Regions from separate parts of the Homo sapiens genome. Here regions 2 and 3 are each linked to region 1. The links are contacts of gene promoters, found by promoter capture Hi-C in human tissues and cell types (Jung and others, 2019). All regions are on one chromosome and are shown on one strand. The core of a region is centred on a gene start or on the middle of the fragment in contact, and the rest is flanking DNA. Distances in the headings are between cores, read along the strand shown.

Region 1 (2,703 bases), core at 68-2,567:
CCTGTTCACACTGCCTCCAGGTGGGCCATACCTGTGGGGCGAGCGAGGAACACGAAGCGGACCCAGGAGGGGCCCCGCTCCTCCACGGACAGCAGTGTCTCGGGCTCACAGTGCAGCCCCGCCTCCTCCTTCACCTCCCGCTGCAGCGCCTCCACGATGGTCTCCCCTGGCTCCATTCTCCCCGCAGGCAGGTACCACGACCCCCGGCACTCCCTCTTGGCCTCCTGGATCAGTAGCACCTCATCCTGAGAGGAGAGAGGATCCTCACTTCCTGCCACAGCCTTCCCTCGCCCCGGGACCAGGGGGCATCTCAAACACAGTCGCCCAAGACTCCCCTCTGGGTGGACACTCTCAACCCAGCTAGCGCTCCAGGAGACCTGCCCTCGTGTCGCTGGGGGCTGCAGCCCTCTCCTCTCTGCAATTCGTCTCTCTCTGGATTTAGGAAGACTTCCATTTCAGGAAGGGCTGAGATTCCTGGAAGCCGCTTCAGGGGCTGGAGATGAGGCCCCAGAGTGAGGGTCACCATGTGTCTGTCTGTCTTGGATTGATTTGCGTCTGTACCTGCCACTGTGTATCTCTCGCCTCCAACGGCGTGGTTTACAAACTGTGATGGGTCCTCACACTGGGGTCTGGCTTGAAACACGACCCCCACCTCCGCTCTGTACAACCCCGCCCTATGGCCCTGGCCCCGTCTAGTTGTCATTACATCGCCCACTACAGGCATCAGCACCAAAGGCCTGAAGGTAAGCCGGGATTGAGCCACTGCTATCTGAGGGGCCCTGGGCACTCCGCTAGACTCTGGGGAAGGGAAGGAATGAGGCCTAGTCGGATGAGACAAACAGGCCCCGGGCCTCAGTTTCCTCTTCTGCATATCGGGACGAACGCAGGACACAGATGCGAGTGGGAGTGGGAGTGCTTTGCAAAACTGGGAAGCGCCACGCACGCGGCAGCGCTGGCTGTGGCCGTTGGGTCTTCTGTCCCCACCTGGGCTGGCTGCGCGCTCCCGAGGCCCGGCGGGCCCGGGGGCGGCCGCTCACCTGCTCGCTGAGGAACACGGCCAGCACCACGTAGCACACGTTCTTCCGCAGCCGCACGGGCGCCGGCGGCTCCCCGGCCGGCGCCGAGTCGCAGCTGTGCACGCTGGACCCCTGGCCAGCCAGCACGGAAGCCAGCGCCCCCGCCAGGCCCTCCGAGGCCATCGGGTCCCCCGGGGGGCGGCGGGCCGGATCCTCGCAGACCGACTGAGCCGAGCCGCGGGCTAGAGTGCGCTGCGGAGCCCGCTCCCAGTCCCTGCGGCAGCGGGCCGGGAGCTCACGAGAACGCGGAAGCGCACGCGAACGCGGAAGCGCACGCGAGCTCTGGCCGCTGATAGGCTGCGCGGCGCCGCGGCCTGCCCGGATTGGCCGGCCCGCGGCATTCACCGAGGGGGCGGGGCCGCCCGGGGCCGCCCTGGAACTGGGGGGGCACGGGTCCGGAGCCCAGCGGACCCCGCCCGGCTTCTGCCGCCTGTCAGTCCCGTGCGCTCGGGACGTCTCCCAGCCGCCACCCGCTCGCCAACTCCCCGAGCGCGCACTGGTCTGCAGGAGCTCCGACGGTGACGTCATCTTTCCTGCAGGGCGCGTTGCGCCGCCGGGGTAGGCGACGGTGACGCGACAATCCGGTGACGTCACGGAGGCCCGGGGCCGCCCCCTGGAACCACTGTCCCGCTGTTGCCGTAAACACACAATGGCATTGCCGGAGTTGATCATATCCCAAATACCTTTCTTCTCATTCCACCAAAGAGTTATAAATGTCACATGGCCCGTGGGGTGGGGGACATAAACCCCTGCCTTGAAGGAGATTCTGCAATAGTTGGAGAGATGGACGGAGTCCTAGATGAGGAGTCAGCTGAGGGTTCGAGGCTAAGTGCTAAATGCTTGGTTTGGGCAGGAAGAGTGACAGGCGCTGGAAGGAGGGAGGGGGCAGGGCTGGGGATGGCGGGAGGGGTCCGGGGCTGAGAGAAGGCTGCCGTCAGCCGGCCCACCCTCATCAGTGTCCCTCTGCCTACCGCATTTCCCACGCAGCTCAAGGCCCTCTCTGCTGCAGATGGTGCGCCCTGGGAGGGCGGGGGTGGGGCCCTGCTCCTCCATCCTTGTCGTCACCCTCCCACCCAGCGTGCAGGACCTGGCGCGTGGAGAGCAGGGTGGGGGTGGTTGTGGCGAGCGCCTGCTCCTCTCCCAGCTCGGCCTTTCCTCCTTCACCCCACCTCAGCACTGGAAGGCAAAGCCAGCTGGAAGGGATCTGCGAAGCAGGCCGTCTGGCTCCTCACCTGGCAGAGGCCACCCCTTTCCTCTGCCTCTGATAGTTTTGTGCGCCTCCCTGCTAGGGAGACTGTGGCTTGGTGGTGTGGACAAAGCTCAGGACCTGCAGCCAGATGGCCAGCCACTGCTGACTGGCTTGCTCTGTGCTCCTGGGTGAGCTGTGGGCCTCAATTTTCTTATTTGTAGAGCAGGATCATAGCAATTCTTCTTTTACAGGGGTGTTGGGAAGCCACAACAATTGGAGAGGAGCTGTGTGGATTGTCCAGCACTGGGCACCGTCCCCAGGCAGCCCACCAACCCTCAGGGGTGGTCCCTCTCCACCATAGCTCTTGCTACCACACGCAAGGCCTGCCCTCATGAAATGTGACTTTTGTTATCCCCTAGAGTCAGGGTTTCACTGTGT
Region 2 (2,703 bases), core at 204-2,703, 200 kb before region 1:
GCACCGCCACACCTGGCTAAGTTTGTTTGTTGGTTTGTTTGTTTTTATAGAGACGCGGTCTCATCACTATGTTGCCCAGGTTGGTTTCGAATTCCTGGGCTCAAGTGATCCTCCCACTTTGGCCTCCCAAGTTGCTGGGATCACAGGTGTGAGCCACGGTGCCCAGATGAATTTCCCCTTTTCTTTTTCTTTTTCTTTTTCTTTTTTTTTTTTTTTTGAGACGGAGTCCTGCTCTGTCACCCAGTAGGGTGCAGTGGTGCAATCTCAGCTCACTGCAAGCAATTCTCCTGCCTCAGCCTCCCAAGTAGCTGGGATTACATGTGCCCACCACCATGCCCAGCTAATTTTTGTATTTTTAGTACAGATGGGGTTTCACCATCTTGGACAGGCTGGTGTTGAACTCCCGACCTCATGATCAACCCTCCTCGGCCTCCCAAAGTGCTGGGATTGCAGGTGTAAGCCACCGTGCCTGGCAGAATTTCCCCTTTTCAATTCAGCCCCAACCTACCCCCTCCCACCCCAAGTCCACCTTCCACAGGGCTATCGGGTTATTGCCCTAAAGCTCAGCTTTTATGGGACTCCCTGTTCAAAAGCCTTTAGTCGTTCCACCTTTCCCTCTAATTAGGTACAAATTCCCCTTAATACAGTCAGAATCTGCCTTCCCAACTAGATTGTGTCACCTTACCCGCACTCTGAGCGTAGAACTCCGTCCCGAAAGCAACACATCCGTACCTCCCCGTGGTTTCACCTACACTCCCATTCCTATCCAAGATGCTCCTTCACACCCCCTTTATCTCCATGGAACTCCTTCCCACCCGTAAATGCCCACCTTAAATGGTACCTTTGATATGAAGCCTTTCTTGCGCTCCCAACAAATAGTTACCTCTCTGGCACTCATGGCCCTGTCTGGTCCCTTGTGGCACTCACACCCACTCTGTGACAGACACCTGTGCCTTGTTTCATCTCATCCCCTTCTGGGCAGTGTGTCTCTCACAGGCCATGCAGTCTACAGCCTCCCACAAACAGTGCCCATGCTGTCGGCGGACTGGGTTGATAGCTGAAGTCCATGGACACACCCTACTGGGAAAGCAGGTTTTGATAAGAGGAGCAAGCACAAGGACACAGGCTGACCTGTGGGGAAATGGTGTGTGGGGACCTAGGAACCCAGAGCCAATGGGAATCACAGAGCTGGATGGCTCCTCCTTGCCCACATGGGGCAACCCCCTCATTTTATGAAGATGTGCAGAAATCTCAGGGAAGCGAAAGGGCCCAGGACCACACACCTGGTGACTCCCACTCCTGGTGTACAAGAGGCTCCATCAATCCAATTATTTCCTTCCTTGCACTTTGGCTCGCCCCCCGCTCCCCCGTGCTTCCCCCACCATTTTTCTGACATTGACCTTCTCCCAGCAAAAGGGAGACATACTTGAACACTATTCCCAGGGCACCCTGACTGACTTCTAGAGGCCTCTGTGAGCAGATGCTTGGGGCTCAGCCTAGGCCCCAGGGGGATCTTGCAGCTGGGAGAGGATGTGATCAAGGTTGGTCAGTTGGAGACTTCACTCCCACAGCATTCATGCCACACAGAAATGTTCTGAAAATGCTTTAATGCCACCAAGAAATCTGAAAGGTGCAGGAAGCTGCCGCCATCCCCCTGGGTGCCTGGGCCCAGGCTGTCCCTGAAGTGGCCATCAGCAGGCAGGAGGCTTGCATAGCCAAGCAGCCCAAGCAATTGCTGACATCCTTTTGTCCTCTGCCCTAAATGCCCCAGGTTCCTCCTCAGCTGGGGAAAGAAAGAGGAGGAAGTGGAAAAAGAGTAGGAGGAGGGTGGTTCTCTCCAGGGCACCCTTCCTGCTTTGGGATGGTGACTCACCCAGCAGGCCCTGGGAGAGGCAATTTATCAGCCCCAACGAAGACAGGCCAGGCCTCGGGCTCCAGAAGGGGCAGAGGAGGTTCTTCTGATGCAGTGGCCAGGAGGAGTCACCAGCAGAAGCCAAGGGGCGGTGGACCATCCCTCTGCTGCCTCTGTCACTTTGGGCCTTTCTTTAGTACAACATTGTCATACTCAGTTCCTGGCTGCCAGCCAGAAGCAGAGAAATCCTGCCCGGCTGGCTGGACATGCTGGAGGCCAGCAGGGTCCCTGTCAGCTGTCGCCTGCCTCCTCCATGCCTCACCCCGGGGCTCCTGCGGGCTGTCATAGAGGGACAGGGCAGCCACTCCCTCGGGCTCATCGTATATGTGGTCAGGTCGAGGGGGCAGGGTCTCCTCAATGCTGTCGTACAGAGGGTCGGCCAGGAGCTGAGGAGGGACTGCCAAGATGCCCCTGAAGTTCTTCCCCAAGGAACGGGCCACCGCATCGAAGGGCACGGCATACTCCCCCTCCTGGCCCCGAGGCCGTGGAGCAGGCACCGGTGTGGTGGGTGAAGGCGGCGGCAGTGAGTCATGCGGCCGAGAGTAGGGGCTATCAGGCCGGGGCAGCGACGCGGGGATTGTGGCTGGCTGCGGTTGGGGTGTAGCGGGTGCAGCATTCTTCTGGGCAGAGATGGCCTCTTCCAGGGCCAAGAAGATCTCATTGCCTTGCCGGGTTTCGAACTCAAAGTTGCCCTCTCCAGAGACGCAGCGACGGCCTGCCTCAAAGGAAAAGGTTACCTGGACCAGGGAGAAAGCAGGTTATTGGCCAGGCCACAGGGCAGGGGTGCATTT
Region 3 (2,703 bases), core at 88-2,587, 180 kb before region 1:
AGTATTAACTGAGTGTCTGTTATATGCCAGGCACCATGCTAAGCCTTTTATAGTGTTATGCCATTTAATTGGGAAACTCGTTTGGTCTCTGAGCCTGGATTAAGTGATCTGTGAAGTCCCTTGTACTTCAAGCATTCTGGATGGGATTTCCAGTTGTCATCCTTGTATTCTCTCCCCAATATAGCACCGTGTTCTCAATTCATATGTACATGTTTGTAAAATTCCTTAAAATATTTATGCTCAAACCAACATTTCCATTTTATCTATCTTAAATATATCTTCCTCTTCTTTACGCCTAATTTCTTAAACTCCCAGAGTTTTTTTCTGTAAGATCTAGTCATCTGTAGCACTTCTCACAAATTGAGCTCTCTTATGCCCCAAACAGTAACGAAAGAGGTCTCTTAGTTGGACAATAAGCAGTGAAAGATATTTCTTATGGGACAAGAAATTAACATTATTAGTCAAATGTTGATGCCGGTAGGCTGAGAAATGATTCTCACTTAAAAGCCCCTGGGTTTTAAACCTCTCTTAGAAAAACATTAGTTAGATGAAAAAAAAAATCAAAATATTTTCCTCTGGAAAACAATGTTCCTCTGAAAACAAGCAGATTATTAAAATATCCCTTGTACTACTTCAGGAAATTGTAATCTTATAACTGTAGTGGCCTTTTAGCTTTTAAATATATGAACTTGAGTTGGACACATGCTGATCTCATTGGTACTTTGCATGATAAGAAATTATGATATTTACAATGTGCAGTCTCAGAAAGAACTGAGAGTTTTGCTAGACATTTGCCCTAAAGTTTGAGTCAATTTATGGTTTAAAGGGGTGTATTTAAGGCTAGAAAAGGGAAATGAAGGGTTTTCTTAGGATTTTTTCCAATTCTATTTAAAATTGTTTGCAAAGTTTTGAAAGCATATGTCATGAGTTTGGCAAAAATTATTTCAAAGCTTGTTTTTTTTTTAACCTCATTCACCTCTGCTAACTCCTGAACTTCAGTGCTTTACTTCTGTCTTCCAAAAAGACGTTGTCTAAAATTAGTCATGAAATTTAACTTAACTGTAAGAACTTGAAACATAAAGTTTGCTCTGAAAAAGATCTGGGAAACCTGATGTATATTTCACATATCAATACATCTGTTGATGTATTGATAAAATCTATACATCTCAGTTGAAAAAAAATCTAAATTTTGCCCAATATATAGCCACAAATTATTTAGAATGTAATGTTCGTGTTAGTAGGTGATATTTTTGTCTTCAGCTTGTCATTGACCCATCTAAGGATCCCTGCGAGGTCTTGTCAAAAACTAGCCTGGGGCATACCCAAGAATTTTAAAGATTAAATAAAACTTACTGGAAAATGTGACCTTGTTTTCCTTAGTCTTAATATTTTGAACTGATAATGTTCCAGAACTGAGCAACTTTCTTCAGGCCTTCATAAAACCAAATTAAATTGTTTTTAGGTGAATTGAACCTGAGCAACAGGGAGTATTTAAGGACAGGCCAGGCAGGGGCACACATGCTTGTAGTCCCAGCTACTGGGGGGGAGGCTAAGCTGGGAGGATCACTTGGGTACAGGAGTTCAAGTCCAGCCTGGGTAACATAGCAAGACCCCAAGTCTTTTAAAAAAAATTAATTAATTAATTTAAATTAAATTCAAATAAAATAAGGACATTATCCCACAGGTGTTACAAATGAAAATTTGTTGTAATGTAAAGGATTATTTACTAGTTCTTGGAATTCTACAGTTAGCCACACTCCATACAGGGAGAGCAGAATGTTGTGAGCAAGAAGTTTTAATTTCACAGAATTCCTAAAACCTGTCCATTCAGAGCTGTTTGGTTTAGGTTACTGTTAATGTACCCTAGAGGTTCCCAAAGGCACATTTCGTGTTAACATTGATAGCATTGATAGGGTGAGACTTAAAAAAAACCAACCTTTTTTTTTTTTTTTTTTTTTCTTAAGATGGAGTTTTGCTCTTGTTGCCCAGGCTGGAGTGCAGTGGCGCAATCTCGGCTCACGGCAACCTCTGCCTCCCGGGTTCAAGCAGTTCTCCTGCCTCAGCCTCCCAAGTAGCTGGGATTACAGGCATGCACCACCACGCCCAGCTAATTTTGTATTTTTAGTAGAGACGGAGTTTCTCCATGTTGGTCCGACTGGTCTTGAGCTCCCGACCTCAGGTGATCCTCCTGTCTCGGCCTCCCAAAGTGCTGGGATTACAGGCGTGAGCCACCGCACCTGGCTGACCCAACTTCTTATCTATTCCTCCCATACCCGTCCCCTCAAATGTAAACAGCACTCACAAAAGTGGATATTTGGTTCATAGAGATTACTGTTGTGTAAATCTGTTGCCAGTGGAATAAAATCTTTCCTTTTTACTAAAATTTTATTCGTACAGTAAACTGCATCCATTTAAAGTGTACAAATTGACAGATACATACACCTGTGACTCCGGGATCAAAATATGGAACATTTCCTCTTTGCAGTCTGTTCCTCCCTCAGCTCTCAGACCCACACAACCCTGTTCTGCTTTCTGTCACTATAAATTAGTTTGCATTTTCTGGAATTTTATATAATGGACTTACTGTATACTCTTGTTTTCTGACTTCTTTCACTCAGCATAGTAACTCTGAGATTGATTCTCATTGTTGCATAGTAGGAGTGCTTGGTTACTTTTCATTGTTGCCAAGTATTCCGTTGTATG

The links. The method cuts DNA at HindIII sites, captures the fragments that hold promoters and counts their contacts. A contact is called where the count stands out against the background at its distance.
Region 2: a contact is called between a fragment that was not itself captured here and the fragment with the promoter of NUDT18 in region 1, in 1 of the 25 tissues and cell types used here (spleen).
Region 3: a fragment that was not itself captured here is called in contact with the fragment with the promoter of NUDT18 in region 1 in 1 of the 25 tissues and cell types used here (spleen).

Annotation. Positions count from the first base shown.
Region 1 is chr8:22,108,102-22,110,804 of GRCh38, forward strand. NUDT18 (nudix hydrolase 18) reads right to left here and starts at 1,318. Exons shown (of 3, transcript NM_024815.4): 1 at 1,038-1,318; 2 at 32-245. The coding sequence starts at 1,199. RefSeq lists an enhancer at 1-432 and a silencer at 892-1,671. The HindIII fragment of the contact is 26,002 bases long and covers 1-2,703 here.
Region 2 is chr8:21,907,283-21,909,985 of GRCh38, forward strand. It overlaps DOK2 (docking protein 2), which reads right to left. Exons shown (of 5, transcript NM_003974.4): 5 at 1,591-2,649. The coding sequence ends at 2,029. Among named protein-coding and RNA genes, the nearest start is that of DOK2, 5.1 kb to the right of the region's middle. The HindIII fragment of the contact is 7,625 bases long and covers 1-2,703 here.
Region 3 is chr8:21,925,602-21,928,304 of GRCh38, forward strand. All of the region lies in intron 1 of XPO7 (exportin 7), which reads left to right. Among named protein-coding and RNA genes, the nearest start is that of XPO7, 7.3 kb to the left of the region's middle. The HindIII fragment of the contact is 4,845 bases long and covers 1-2,703 here.